Regions from separate parts of the Homo sapiens genome. Here region 1 is linked to region 2. The links are contacts of gene promoters, found by promoter capture Hi-C in human tissues and cell types (Jung and others, 2019). All regions are on one chromosome and are shown on one strand. The core of a region is centred on a gene start or on the middle of the fragment in contact, and the rest is flanking DNA. Distances in the headings are between cores, read along the strand shown. Region 1 overlaps LOC124902640 (a long non-coding RNA gene). Region 2 holds the start of USH1C (USH1 protein network component harmonin).

What was found. The method cuts DNA at HindIII sites, captures the fragments that hold promoters and counts their contacts. A contact is called where the count stands out against the background at its distance.
Region 1: a contact is called between a fragment that was not itself captured here and the fragment with the promoter of USH1C in region 2, in 1 of the 25 tissues and cell types used here (dorsolateral prefrontal cortex).

Annotation. Positions count from the first base shown.
Region 1 is chr11:17,341,862-17,349,363 of GRCh38, forward strand. LOC124902640 (a long non-coding RNA gene) reads left to right here. Exons shown (of 2, transcript XR_007062608.1): 2 at 1-4,184. It also overlaps a transcript of NUCB2 not described here. Among named protein-coding and RNA genes, the nearest start is that of NCR3LG1, 6.2 kb to the right of the region's middle. The HindIII fragment of the contact is 3,839 bases long and covers 1,247-5,085 here.
Region 2 is chr11:17,538,517-17,545,707 of GRCh38, forward strand. USH1C (USH1 protein network component harmonin) reads right to left here and starts at 5,900. Exons shown (of 27, transcript NM_153676.4): 1 at 5,756-5,900. The coding sequence starts at 5,791. The HindIII fragment of the contact is 3,601 bases long and covers 2,494-6,094 here.

The sequences.
Region 1 (7,502 bases), core at 1,916-4,415, 200 kb before region 2:
TATTGATTGGAATAGTTTCAGAAGGAATGGTACCAGCTCCTCCTTGTACCTCTGGTAGAATTAGGCTGTGAATCCATCTGGTCCTGGACTTTTTTTGGTTGGTAAGCTATTAATTATTGCCTCAATTTCAGAGCCTGTTATTGGTCTATTCAGAGATTCAACTTCTTCTGGGTTTAGTCTTGGGAGGGTGTATGCGTTGAGGAATTTATGCATTTCTTCTAGATTTTCTAGTTTATTTGCATGGAGGTGTTCACAGTATTCTCTGATGGTAGTTTGTATTTCTGTGGGATCGGTGATGATATCCCCTTTATCATTTTTTATTGCATCTATTTGATTCTTCTCTCTTTTCTTCTTTATTTGTCTTGCTAGCGGTCTACCAATTTTGTTGATCTTTTCAAAAAACCAGCTCCTGGATTCTTTGATTTTTTGAAGGGTTTTTTGTGTATCTCTTTCAGTTCTGCTCTGATCTTAGTTATTTCTTGCCTTCTGCTAGCTTTTGAATGTGTTTGCTCTTGCTTCTCTAGTTCTTTTAATTGTGATGTTAGGGTGTCAATTTTAGATCTTTCCTGCTTTCTCTTGTGGGCATTTAGTGCTATAAATTTCCCTCTACACACTGCTTTGAATGCGTCCCAGAGATTCTGGTATGTTGTGTCTTTGTTCTTGTTGGTTTCAAAGAACATCTTTATTTCTGCCTTCATTTCGTTATGTACCCAGTAGTCATTCAGGAGCAGGTTGTTCAGTTTCCATGTAGTTGAGTGGTTTTGAGTGAGATTCTTAATCCTGAGTTCTAGTTTGATTGCACTGTGGTCTGAGAGATAGTTTGTTATAATTTCTGTTCTTTTACATTTGCTGAGGAGAGCTTTACTTCCAAGTATGTGGTCAATTTTGGAATAGGTGTGGTGTGGTGCTGAAAAAAATGTATATTCTGTTGATTTGGGGTGGAGAGTTCTGTAGATGTCTATTAGGTCTGCTTGGTGCAGAGCTGAGTTCAATTCCTGGATATCCCTGTTAACTTTCTGTCTCGTTGATCTGTCTAATGTTGACAGTGGGGTGTTAAATTCTCCCATTATTATTGTGTGGGAGTCTAAGTCTCTTTGTAGGTCTCTAAGGACTTGCTTTATGAATCTGGGTGCTCCTGTATTGGGTGCATATATATTTAGGATAGTTAGCTCTTCTTGTTGAATTGATCCCTTTATCATTATGTAATGGCCTTCTTTGTCTCTTTTGATCTTTGTTGGTTTAAAGTCTGTTTTATCAGAGACTAGGATTGCAACCCCTGCCTTTTTTTGTTTTCCATTTGCTTGGTAGATCTTCCTCCATCCCTTTATTTTGAGCCTATGTGTGTCTCTGCACATGAGATGGGTTTCCTGAATACAGCACACTGATGGGTCTTGACGCTTTATCCAATTTGCCAGTCTGTGTCTTTTAATTGATTTAATGGTGAGAGAGAAAAAAAAATTGCATCTAGTTCTCTTTGCTATCTCCCATGAATCATTGCATTTAACATGTTATTTCTGCTCAACTTTAGTTCATTTTCAATGTGCATTTTTAGTGATGTCAGAGTATGTGTCATTTAATTAAATCCCCGCCCTTGCTTTAGATTTTCTGTGCATGGGGTGTGAGGCACATATGCAGTCTGTGCCATGTTGTATTTGTTTTGTACCATGTTGTTTGGCCTATTTTGCTTCCATGCTGTCCTCCATTGTTAAGGTGATTTGGAGTTGTTTTACTTTTGAATTTTATCCTTTCTGTTCTTGGTGTGACAACTTTCTAAATATTTCCTTATTAAAGTAGTGATATATAGATGATTTCCTTTTTAAAGCATATTTACTATGTCCTTTAATGTTTTAAACAGTTTTATGGAGGTATTTATTGAAGTATTTTTATCAAACATGACTATTTAAAATCCCTATCAACTTTGTGTAGTGATTCTTTCTTGTTCTATGACACTTAGTAATATATCTTAGAATTTGCATCTTAATTTTTTTCTAACTAAATCTCAGTCCTAATCCCATATCATTTTTTATTTCTTTTGATATGTGTGTGTATTTATTCCCTTTGATGTTCATAGTATGTTTCATTGAGGTTCAAGGTTGATTTTTTGGGGAAAAGAAAAAGCACCTTTGCAGAAAAGTCAGTTTTTCTAGAGCTAGTTAGGCAGGCCCTCATTCCTGGTTTGGTTTCAATTGCAGAGAGTTCTTGTATCTCTGCAGGGGAATTTCTGACTCATGGGGTGGGTCCCTGACTCCTTACTCCTCTCTGATTGAGTGAACCAGCATCTGGGGCAAATACGTAGCAGTCAGATGCTCTGATGAATGTCCCTGTTCAGTTCTTTGACTTTTTTGTATCCTCCTTAAATAATAATGGTTTTAAAGATAAGCAGAAGCCTATCTATAGTACTTTATAGATCTCAGCAGGGATTATTCATCTTACAGTTAATACAGGAAGAAACATCTTTGATACGGAAAGACTAGGGTGTTAATTCAGCAATCTCTGGTTAGGAGAAAAGTAGCCTAGTTTATTACTTCTTCACTACTTTTGCCTGGATGACCTGAATTTTAATCAAGAAGTTCTTTCCTCTCTATATGCGCTCCCCCATTTTCCCACTTTTGTATTGACTTTCCCACTATTGTATTTCTAATGCACCTTCTTAATCACTGGAGAAAGCTTTGAGGCATGTAAGAGGTCCTAGCACCATTTTCAGTCTTAAAGTTTCATAGCCACCAGCTTTATGGGACTCTATTATCAGGCCTTTCAAACAAATTCTTCCCTTCCCTCACAATCCCAAGCTATTGATCTTTTCTCTAAGGAAGCCTTTTGTATTACTAATTAAGACTAGGTGACTATATTAAAACAGGGTTATCTTCTAAAAGATTTATATAAATGATAAAACAGAGGCTAAGTATTTTTGTAAGGACAGCAATTTGAAGTCAGTTAATGCCTAGAGTGACTGTTTCATTCTTCTGCTATGGCTCTGGTGACTTCCTGATAATTCTGTCCGAGCCCCTGTGTCCAGTTCCAGGACCTAAGAATGGAAGAGCTCTGGAGGCTGAAGGTGGAAGATGGATCCCCCTTTCAGGGACAGTGAAAGGAGGGTTAATCTTTCCTGAAGCTGTTAGTCTGGTATCTATTAGCACACATGAGAATTAGAAACCTTGCAACTTTAGAAATAGTATCTGTGTAGTAAATGCTGTCTGTGTACCAATTTGTATAGCTTTTAATAGAAATATCTTATTTTTGGATGGAAAATGTGTGTAAGCTTGTGACTAAAATAGTTCTGGATGGAAGACCATTCAGTATCTTCTGAAAAAAAAATTGTCTTCTGGAACTAAAACATGAAAAAAAAACCTATCCATTATTGCTTTTTTTTAAATAAAGAAAACCAGTGCTGTGTAATCCATATTTTACCAATATTAATTATGTCTTAGAACCATTTAAGAATGATGGTTTACATATCCTATTTTAAAGTCAAGATTTTAAAGAGCTTTTATTTGTTATTACTAATTATTGGGAGAATATTGAAAAATTTTCAATTTAAATGTTGAATTAAAAATGTAACCTTTTTGGCTGGGTGCGGTGGCTCACGCCTGTAATCCCAGTACTTTGGGAGGCCAAGGCGGGTGGATCACGAGGTCAGGTGTTAAAGACCAGCCTGGCCAAGATGGTGAAACCCCATCTCTACTAAAAATACAAAAATTAGCCGGGCGTGGTGGTGGGCGCCTGTAATCCCAGCTACTCAGGAGGCTGAGGCAGGAGAATCACTTGAGGCCGGGAGGCGGAGGTTGCAGTGAGCCGATAACGCACCACTGCACTACAGCCTGGGTGGCAGAGCGACACTCCGTCTCAAAAAAAAGAAAAGTAACCTTTTATAAATATGGGGCTGAAAACGTTATTTTTAAATTTTGGAAAAAGTTCTACTAGCTTGAAGATTACTTAGATTTATTTTTTCTTGGCTTATTTAGATATTTGGCCTATTTTTAAAACTATAAATAAATAATTGGATTTTAATTTGATAGAGAATCAGAAAAACAGAGACTTTATATAATTTTTGTTACATTTGAATTCATTTTATAAATATATGTTGTAAAAATTCTTCCAGTGCAATATTTTTTGGAAAATATTGTTCTAGTCGTTGTTTGTATAGGTTTATTTCTAATTATATTAAAAGTAAAATTAGAAAAATATGTAATATTTGTTGTAATTTTCTGGGAAAAAAGATTTGACAATGTTAATAGAATGGATTATTTGTAAAACACCAATATTAGAGAGTCATAGAGCCTGAGTAAGGGCCTTAGATACTATCTTCCAATGAAGGAACCCCTTCTCCAGCATGGCTAGTAAGTGGTTATCCACCTCCTGCTTCAAGTCTTCCAGTGATAGCATTGAAGTGGAAATCACAGTGGTTTCCAGGCTTGTCTGCATATTGGAATCACCTAAGAGATACAAAAAATACTGGTACCTGGGTCCCATCTCCAGGTGATTCTAATATGCAGACAAGTTTGGGAACCAGTGGTAAATCATGTGGAAAAGCACCTCACTCTTTTTCATCATTAGAGAATCCATAATGGAAAGGAAACCTGGCTGATGTTATGAAGAGTCTAATAAGCATTTAGATGTCATTGAGAGCATTTATAGCCACACTCCCTACCCTTCAGTGTTGTATGATAAATAAATATTTCCATTTAAATTCAAGAACCATTTAATAAGATAGCACACTGACAGAGTCCATGATGTTGGTATAGTGGAAAGTCCTGGACTGGGTGTTAGGACTTCTAGCTGCCCAACTTTAAATAATTTTAGCCTTACAAAAAATTTGCAAAAATAGTATAAAGAATTCCCATATGCCCTTCATCTAGCTTCCTCAAATATCAACATGTTATATAACTACAGTAAAAGTATTACAATCAGGAAATTAACATTGATACAATTCTATAAACTAATCTGCAAATTTTGCCAGTTATCCTACTATAAATTTTTTCTGCGCTAAGATCCAATCTGGGATCACACATTGCATTTAGTTTTGTTATGTGTTTGTTATTTTGAAAAAAAATTAAATCATTGCAACGATAGTATAATGAATTTGTGAACCCCGAAAATTTGAGACAGGTCTCAGTTAATTTAGAAAGTTTATTTTGCCAAGGTTGAGGACACAGCCATGACACAGCCTCAGAAAGTCCTGACGACATGTGCCCAAGGTGGTCGGGGCACAGCTTGGTTTTATACATTTAGAGAGACATGAGACATCAATCAATATATGTAAGAAGTACATTGGTTTGGCCTGGAAAGGCAGGACAACCTGAAGCAAAGGCAGGAAGGCTCTAAGTGCGGTGGGAGCTTCCAGGTCACAGGTGATACACAAAGGGTTACGTTCTTTTGAGTTTCCCATTTTGAGTTTCTACCTTTCCAAAGGAGGCAAGTCAGATATGCATCTATCTCCGTGAGCAGAGGAGTGACTGAATAGAAACAGGGCAACAGGAGACAGGTTTACCCTAAGCAGTTTTTCATCTTGAGTTTTCCTTAGTGATTTTGGGGACCCAAAATATTTTCCTTTCACAAATTCTAGTATACCTTGCTTTCACTCTTTCTGTCCAATTCTTTGTTTGACTGAAGCGTTTCAGAATTAAGCTGCAAACATTGTGATCCCTTACCCTAAATATGTGAGCATCTCTTATGAACAAATATTTTTTTAATCATAACCATCATATAATTATCAAATTTGGGAAATTTAACATTGTTACAATACTATTAATCTAACACATAGTCCGTATTCAAATTTCACCAACTGTCTCAATACTGTCCTTTATAATAATTTTTTCATGATCCAGGATTTGTGTGTTGGATTTTGTTGTAAGGTCTCTTTAATTTCCTTTGATCTGGAATAGCTCCTCAGTTGTATTTTGTCTTTCATGACATTTACATTTTTTGAGAGTACAGGTCATTTGTTTTATAGAATGGCTCTCAATCTGCATTTGTCTAGACTGGTCTTTCTCACAGTGTGGTCTGTGACTGGTGCTGGTCTATGCCTGGCTGTTACCTAATGGTGAGAAGGCCAACCAACATTACTCATGCTGTTGGAAACTTTTATAGCAATTCAAAAATAATTTTATGTCTTTTGAATCTAAGAATAAAAATTGAGGGCTTGGATTTTTATGTCTTTTTATTTCATTTCTCTAGTAATTCATTTTTATTTCACAAAATGACAGTTCTTCGTGGGTTGGACACTTATTTTTTATTTTTACTTTTATTTTTTAGAATTAAGAAAAAATAATAGAGACAGGATCTTGCTATGTTGGCCAGTTGGTCTTGAACTGTTGCCCTCAAGCAGTCCTCCTGCCTCTGCCTCCCAAAGTGGGTGAGCCACCATGCCTGGCCAGGTTGGACACTTTTAAAGAGTCCTTCAGCACAGCTACTTGGAACAACAATGGTCTAGAATGAGGTGTTTTTTGTTTGTTTTTGTGTTTTTTTTTTTTTTTTTTTTTTTTTTTTTTTTGGAGACAGAGTCTCACTCTGTCACCCAGGCTGGAGTGCAGTGGTGCAATCATGGCTCACTGCAGCCATGACCTCCTGGCCTTGAGCCATCCTCCCTCCCACCTCAGCCTCTCAAATAGCTGGGAATATAGGTGACACCACCACACCCAGCTAATATCTTGATTTTTTTTGTGGAGATGGGGCCTCACTATGTTGCCTAAGCTGATTCCAAACTCCTGAGCTCAAGTGATCCTCCTGTCTTGGCTTCCCAAAGTGCTGGGATTACAGGCATAAGCCACTACACCTGGCCTAGACAGATTTTTTGAAGCTAAGGACTGTGCTTTAGCCATCGCTGAATTCGTCACTCCTAGATTGTGCCTGGCAGAGTTCAATAAATTGTTGCTGAGGGGCAACTTGAAATGTCCCATTCCTTTAATAGAAAAGCTTTCCTTTCCTTTTTTTTTTTGAGACAGAGTCTTACACTTGTCACTCAGGCTGGAGTGCAACGGCATTGATCTCGGCTCACTGCAACCTCCGCTTCCCGGGTTCAAGTGATTCTCCTGCTTCAGCCTCCCGAGTAGCTGGGATTACAGGCGTCTGCCACCACACCTGGCTAAGTTTTGTATTTTTAGTAGAGACAGGGTTTCACCATGTTGGCCAGGCTGGTCTCGAACTCCTGACCTCAGGTGATCCACCCGCCTCGGCCTCCCAAAGTGCTGGGATTACAGGTGTGAGCCACCGCGCCCAGCAGAAAGCTTTTCTTATACTGAGCCAAAATCTCTCTCCAACTTGCTTTTGCCTTCAAGAACATCACCTAACATGTGTACTCACATACACAGGTGTTAGCTTTTCAGAGACTTACAAGACTGGTACCATTTCTTAAACCCCCAGGCTACTCCAAACAAAATGGGCTCAGCTCCTTTACTCATTTGTAGTGATTAGGATTAGGTTCTGCTGAAAATGAGAACATTTTAAATAAGAGTAGCTTACTGACTTTATTTCTTATGTTCCACAGGTCCAGAGGTGTCCTTCTA
Region 2 (7,191 bases), core at 4,650-7,149:
ATGCATGTTGTTCTGCTTGATGAAGTCTCTTTGGGCTGTTGCGGGGATTAAATGAGTGAGTATGTGTAAAGCACGTATGACAATGCCTGGGACATTTCAAGGTCTCCAAAATGTGTGCTAGATCTTTTCCTTTCATGCCTCCAGCCTTCTCCACCCTGCCCTTTGTCCAGAGGGCTCTGCCTGGGCTCCTCTCCCCTCTGGCTTTCTGCTGTGTTCAGCCATCGGGAGGCACAAGCAGGAGATGAGAGGCGTGGGGAGACAGGAACTGAGGCTCCTAGTCCCTGGGGGCTGGCTGCTGGGCCACAGTTAGGCAGGTTCCTCCACCCAAGGCTGCAGCTGCTGTCTGGGCCTCTTTGGCAGCCCTGGTTCTCACCTGTTCTGGTAACCTTCCCTCTACTGGCCCCTTCAGGGATGCTGGCCTCCTGCATCTGGCCCCAGGGTGCAGCTTGTTGGGTCATTTAATCCTGCCCTTTTCTGTAGAACCTGTTCATAAAGCTTTCTTGGCTTCCCCCTTGGACGAGCCACCTGCTCCCTGCTGCCACCCTGGTTAGCCATTAGCAATGGTGGTACCAGCAGTATTTCCTCTCTGTGGACTCCTCCTCTATCTTTAAGACTCACTTCAAATGTCGCCTCTTCTTGGCCAAGTCTTTCCTTAGGCTCCCACACAAAGCTGGCCACATCTTTCTCTGTGCACACAACAGCACTTTGTCCCCAACTCTGCCATGGGACTCACCAAGCTGTGCTGAACTTTCTCCCTTTACCCTCCTGTCTCCCCACAAGCCTGTGTGTGGCCCAGACACAGGCCTGGCTTGTGAGTGTGGTGGTAGAGCCAAAGAACCCCTTCCCCAACTGGGTCTGCTCCTCTCTGTGCCTCAGTTTCCTTATCTGTAAAATGAGGACTAACATCTCTTTTTAAAATGGGATTTAATCACTATGAGAGATTAATCATTGTTTTTTAGTATTAATTTAATGAGTTAATAATTATGAAGAGTTCAGAACAGTGCCTGGCAGGTAGTAAGTCCTGTGTTTGTTACATAAAACTAAGTGACAATAAGTGGACATAAATTCTATATCCACAGCAGTGGGCAGCGAGTGGCCCTCTGTAGATGTTAGTGGGATGAATAGATCCAGCCACACTTCTTCCCAGGCCTTTAGAGTGTGCATCCCAGTGGTACCAGGCTTTATTTGACTCTCATTTTCTTATCATCCATCTTTTCTTTTTCTTTTGCTTTCTTTCTTTCTTGTCTAGGGTTCTCTCTGTCTCTGTCTCTGTCTCTCTCTCTTTCTTTTCTTTCTGTTTCTGTTTCTTTCTTTTTCTTTTTTTTTTTTTTTTTGAGACCAGGTCTTACTCTGTCACCCAAGCTGGAGTGCAGTGGTGTGACCACAGCTCACTGCAGCCTCAACCTCCAGGCTCAATTGATTCTCCTGCCTCAACCTCTCAAGTAGCTGGGACTACAGGTGCACAACACCACACCTGGCTAATTTTTGTATTTTTTGTAGAGATGGGGTCTCGCTATGTTGCCCAGGCTGGTCTCAAACTCATGGACTCAAGTGATTCTCCCACCTCAGCCTCCCAAAATGCTGGGATTTCAGGCGTGAGCCGCCACACCTGACTTCTTTTCTTTTTCTGGAACCACTTTATTGAGGTATGCCTGACATGTAAAGCGCTGTATATATTTAGTGTATACAACCTGATGAGTTTGGGGATAAATGTGCACGTGTGAAAGCATCACCACCATCAAGGACATAGACAGTGCCCTTCATCTTTTCAGAGGCTCTTGACATGTCAGCTAGTTTGTAGTATTTCACCCTGTGCCTGGCACAGCAATCACGCCCTGCTTCTCCTTGCTTTCCTTCCTCGCTTGCTGCTCCTTCTCCTCCAAAAGTTGAGGTACCCCGGGCTCTGTCCTAGGTCTCCTCTCCATCTGCACTGTCTCTCTAAGTGACCTCATTCATCTCAGGGGTTTAAATACCACTCACACCCCCAAGGACCTACCGATGCTTATCTCCAGGCCAGACCTACAGCCTTCTCAGTCACCTCTAGCAGGCGTCTCAAACTTACAGCATTCGAAGTGGAACGCTAGGTTTCCACCACCTCCTGCTCCGTCTCCACCAACCTGCTCCGTCTCCACCAAATGTGGATTCACCCTTGATGCCTCTCTTTCTACGCTCGCAGCCAATCCATCAGCAAAGCCTGTCAGTTTTTCCTTTAACATGTATCCTGAATCCGACCCATTCTCACCCGAGTCCGAGCCCCTGCCTCTGGCCTGGGCTCCTGCAGGAGCCTCCTGACTGAGGTCCCCTTCTACTCTTGGGCCCCTCAGTGGATTCTCTACAGAGCAGCCAGAACAATTCCTTTTAAATGTAAATCATTCACACTTACAAGAAAATCCTGACCTGACCATGGCCTACCAGGCCCCTACCACCCCTCCGACCCATTTCTCACCATTCTCCACTCACGATTCCTCTGGGACACACTGTCCTACTTGCTGTTCCATACAGGCGGGCATCTGCTTGCCTCAGGGCCTTCACACTTGTTGCTTCCACTTTAGGGAATGCTCTTCTACATGTATCTCTGTGGCTCCTTCTCCTCACTTCTTCTAGGTCTCTGCTCAGATGTCACCTCTTCAGAGAGGCCTTCGTGACTGCCTACCTTGTCACTTACTATCTCTCTCTCCCCATCTTAGTTTATTTTTTCATAGAATTTATCACTATCTGGCATTGTATGATACTTTTGTTGATTTCCTTTTAACTACCTGTCTTCCCTACTGGAATGTACTGTCTAAGACAGCAAGGGCTTTATTTTGTTTTTTGATGCTTAGAGTACTGCCTGGCATATATTAAGGGCTCAGTCAATATTTATTGCCTATGTGAATAAATGAATGATTAACAAATTCCTAGAGAGTGGTGGCTCTTTCTGATCTTATTCATCCCAACCGGTTGTCAGATGCCTGGCCTCAGGCAGAATACACAGCTATGCTCATAAATGCATGATTGCTGAAGAGGCAATAAATACTTTTAAGCCAATGAGTAACCAAGTTCCTACCCTGTGCTGGTGCTGCGAACAGAAGAGCAGTCTCCCTTTGAAAGCTGGTTCTCTGAGGGAGAAAACAGTCTCTGACCAAGCCCTGCTCCCCCACATCCTGGCCCAAGGTTGCTACTAGTTACTGGAAGGGTATGCAAGTGCTCCTGGCGGCCTTGGGGTAACTTCACAAATCAAAGGGAGTCGATGCCTGGAGCCTGTTGGCTCCCACTGGACACTCTGCAGGTATCAGCTGGAAACAGTGTGGTTACTGTGGGCCCAGAGCAGCCAGTACTTTAATTGCTAGTTAGTTTTGACTGTCTTGTGAGGTAAGTTCTACAAACTCCATCTCATAGCTGAAGAAACTAAAACTCAGGGAGAGTGGGTGGCTTGGTCAAGGTCTTCCTGACAGTGACAGGGCTAAGATTTGGTCCCAGTTCTGCTAACTCCAGATAATAATCAACATGGACATTTCTTGAGAGCTCCCTAAGTGCCAGGGTCTATTTAAGCTCCCCACACACATGTAGGTCTCATTCAGCATTCATGGTAACCTTATTCGTTAAATATTGTTATCTCTTTTCACAAGTAAGAGCACTGAGGCACAGAGAGATTAAGTAACTTGCTCAAGGTCACAGAGCACTTTCCATTATAACACACTACCTTAAATATTACTTCCAACAACTAAGGATTTAGATCACAAACCATTTCTTCCAAAACACTAAGGAAGGGACCCCTACAAAGCAAACAACAGCAAGCTGTAAATTTCTCCCAGCATGTCTGTGTGCCTCCTTTCTATCCTCTGTGCTTCATCCTCTCTCCCCAGTTCCTGGATGATCCCCAACCTGGGAGGGGAAGGCTGTGGCTGTCTCCAAGGCAGCAGGGCACAAAGTCCAGCCTGGGCCTTGCCTAGCGCATGGCGCCTGCCCTGCCTGCACACAGGGATATTAATAAGTAATGACTGTTGCGATGAGGAAGAGTAGGGCAGAGGAAACGTGGAGGTCTGAGGCCCTTTGGAGCCTGTGGGACCTGGGGAAGAGGAACAGGGCAAACCCAGGATCTGCATCAGACACCAGGGACCCTGGAGATGATTCTCACAAAAAAGAGAGAGCAGGTACCCCACAGAGTGAAGGCAGAAGACCTGATGTTATTTCAGGCCAGGGGCAGGAAACTGAAATTCAACCCTGAGTCTTGGGTTGGGGGATGGAAGGCTGAGCTCCTTCAAACTGGGTTGCCTGAAATCTACACTCACAAAATGTCCTTAGTGGCTGAAATTTCTTCCGACATGTCTCTTTGCAACAGGATGTAACAGTGAATGCTCTCTCAAGCTCCCCTTGGTATTCGCCAGCCCCTAAATTCCTGCTGAACTTCCAGCTATCACCCACCCCTGGGAGCAGGACCAGAAATGCCCAAGACCTTGTTTTCAGGAGCCTTCTGCCAGTTTGAGCTGTCCCTTTGTGCCCCTACAAAAGCTTGGCCTCAACACGCAGCACTCAGACATGGGTAATTACCAGGGTAGGGTCTGCCTCCCACCTACACCACCAGCAAAGGGCACAGACTGGGTATGGCTGAGAGGATGCTCAAAACATGCTTATTAAATGAATAACTGACCCCGGGCCCTTGGCCCCAAGCCCCTGTGGCCCCTACACTGGCTAGCTCCTTGGGCTCCTATGGGCCTCTTTATGGGAAGGAAGGAGTTAAGCACCCTGACCTGCCCTACCTGAGCTCAGCTCTCAAACCAGGAAGAGGTTTGGCTTGGTCTAAAGACACTGCCCCTGGGGTCTTTGGGAGAGCCTTGGGTCACACAGTTATCAATAGTTAAGTTATCAATAGTTACCTGCCCCTCAGGCAGGGCCTGTGGGGAGCTCCAGATACCACCCACCCCCCCCAAGCGGCTTCATCCCCAGACTCAGAGGCATCCTAAGACTTGGTGGGGAAGTAGGCTGGATCTCTTTGATGGCCCTCTCTGGTCTCAGGGCCTCAGCAGATTCTGCACAGCTTTGTGAATCATTCTCGAAATGCCCTGTGTGAAACCTGGCCACTTCCAGAGATGGTCCTTGAGAATCCCAGACCACCAGTGAGGCCCCTCACTGGGACACACCAGGGTGGACCCGGCTCTGCCTGAAGGATCTGGCCGGCCAGAGCCCAGCTCCGACGCCCTCAGTACCTCCTCCCTTCCTCCCCACCGCACCCGGGTCAGCACCAGCTCCTCAGCTACTTCTCAGACCCTAAGAAACGCCCTTAGGCAGGCAGGGCTGAAATGCTTCTAACTCATGTTCTGAGGTCAAAAGGCAGAGAGAGAGACGTCTAGTTTCCCTTCTCCCAACCCTCACCTCTCAGATACTGCCCCAGACTGTCTCCACATGCCTCAACAGCCCTGAGCTGGGGGCACTAGGAAGGAGAGGGGCTTGCCCACAAAGGGGGCACCTCAGAAAAGCGGCCAAGACTGGAAGGAATTCAAACCCCAGAGACGTCCCTGCCCCTGGAAGGCAGAGGGAGAAAGGCTGGCAGAAGATCGACTCGTTTAGCAGTCCTTGAGCCGGGAGTCCCCGCATTCCCTCCCTCACTTTACTGGGGATCCCTGCTGCCAGCCAGACGACCCTCGGGTGTCCCAGCCCAACCAGAGCCATCAGGTGGGGCCGGAAAAGGGAGGGGCAGTGCCGGGGTGTCCACCCCCTACCCACCGCGCCCAGGACTCCGGAGTCCCAGAAGCCTGGGGCGCCCTGCAGCTCTGACCTTATGCCGGAATTCTCGGGCCACTTTTCGGTCCATGGCTGGGCCAGGTCCAGCTGCGTCGTTGCACGACCCGTTCCTTCGGGTGCCCGGCTGCCAGGAGCTGGAAAGAGCCGCGACCGCGACCGGGCCAGCCGCCCTCGGAGCTGGGGGCGGGGCCTGAGCGCGGAGGGGCGGGGCCAGGCCTCTGTGGGGCGGGGCCGCTGCGAGGCTGGAGTCGAAGGTGCTGAGTCGTCGCCTCCCACTGAAGCCTGGGAGCAAATGGGCCCCAGTGTGCCTATGGGCCTGAGGTGGCAGTAGCTGGGCTTCAAGCTGGTATTTCTCTGGAAGTGGTACCTGAACACATGCGTTTGAGGAAGAAGATCGTGGAGACGTAGGGAGGAGGTTTGGGACTTTTTTGTGGGGACCGGAATAGAGAGATACGGAAACTATTTACACGGGCGGGGGGCGGGGCAATCTAGTCCGTTTTCTCTGGATATTCTTTTTTTTTCCCCCCCGAGACGGAGTCTCGCTCTGTCGCCCAGGCTACAGTGCAGTGGCATGATCTTGGCTCACTGCAAGCTCCGCCTCCCGGGTTCACGCCATTCTCCTGCCTCAGCCTCCCGAGTAGCTGGGACTACAGGCGCCCGCCACCACGCCCGGCTAATTTTTTTTTTTTGTATTTTTAGTAGAGACGGGGTTTCACCGTGTTCGCCAGGAAGGTCTCGATCTCCTGACCTCGTGATCTGCCCACCTCGGCCTCCCAAAGTGCTGGGATTACAGGCGCGGGCCACCGCGCCCGGCCTTCTCTGGATACTCTTGTCGAGGTTCATGGCCCTCCTGGACTGTCAGCCCTTGCTACGCCCTCACCTCCAGCGTACCTTCAGTCCTGGCTTCCTCCTGCACTTTTCCACCAGGGAGAAATCAATCCTTGTTCTGTGAATTCCTTGGGGACAGGGCTGGGTTTTACTGTGGGCCGCAGGGGTCTGAATCAGTGTGTGTGAGAGTGCCCCCCTCAACTGATTTCCCCTCCCACCTTCCCTAACACCTCCACCCCCAACAAAACAAGACAAAACAAAACCCAAACCCAACACACTCACATATCCATCGAAGCCTGGCAGAGCCTGGCAGTGACATTTTGATCTATGGCTGACCTTCACCCAGGGCCCAGACCCTCTGGTTCATTTAATTCAATTTGGTCAGCATTTGCTTAACTCCTAGGTCTAGTGCTTGGTGCAAAGACAATGATGAACCAGGCCTGGAAAGGAATGAAAGGAAAGATTCATCAAAGACAATGATGAACCAGGCCTGGAAAGAGATGAAAGGAAAGAGGGGCTAGGAGAGGGGTGATAAAAATGTGTAAATCAGAGGCTAAGTATGGGGCTTGTGCCTGAACTTAACCCAGGGAGGCACCTGAGCCCTTTGTGCCCTGTCAAGGGCAGGGGCAAGGAGATGGACAG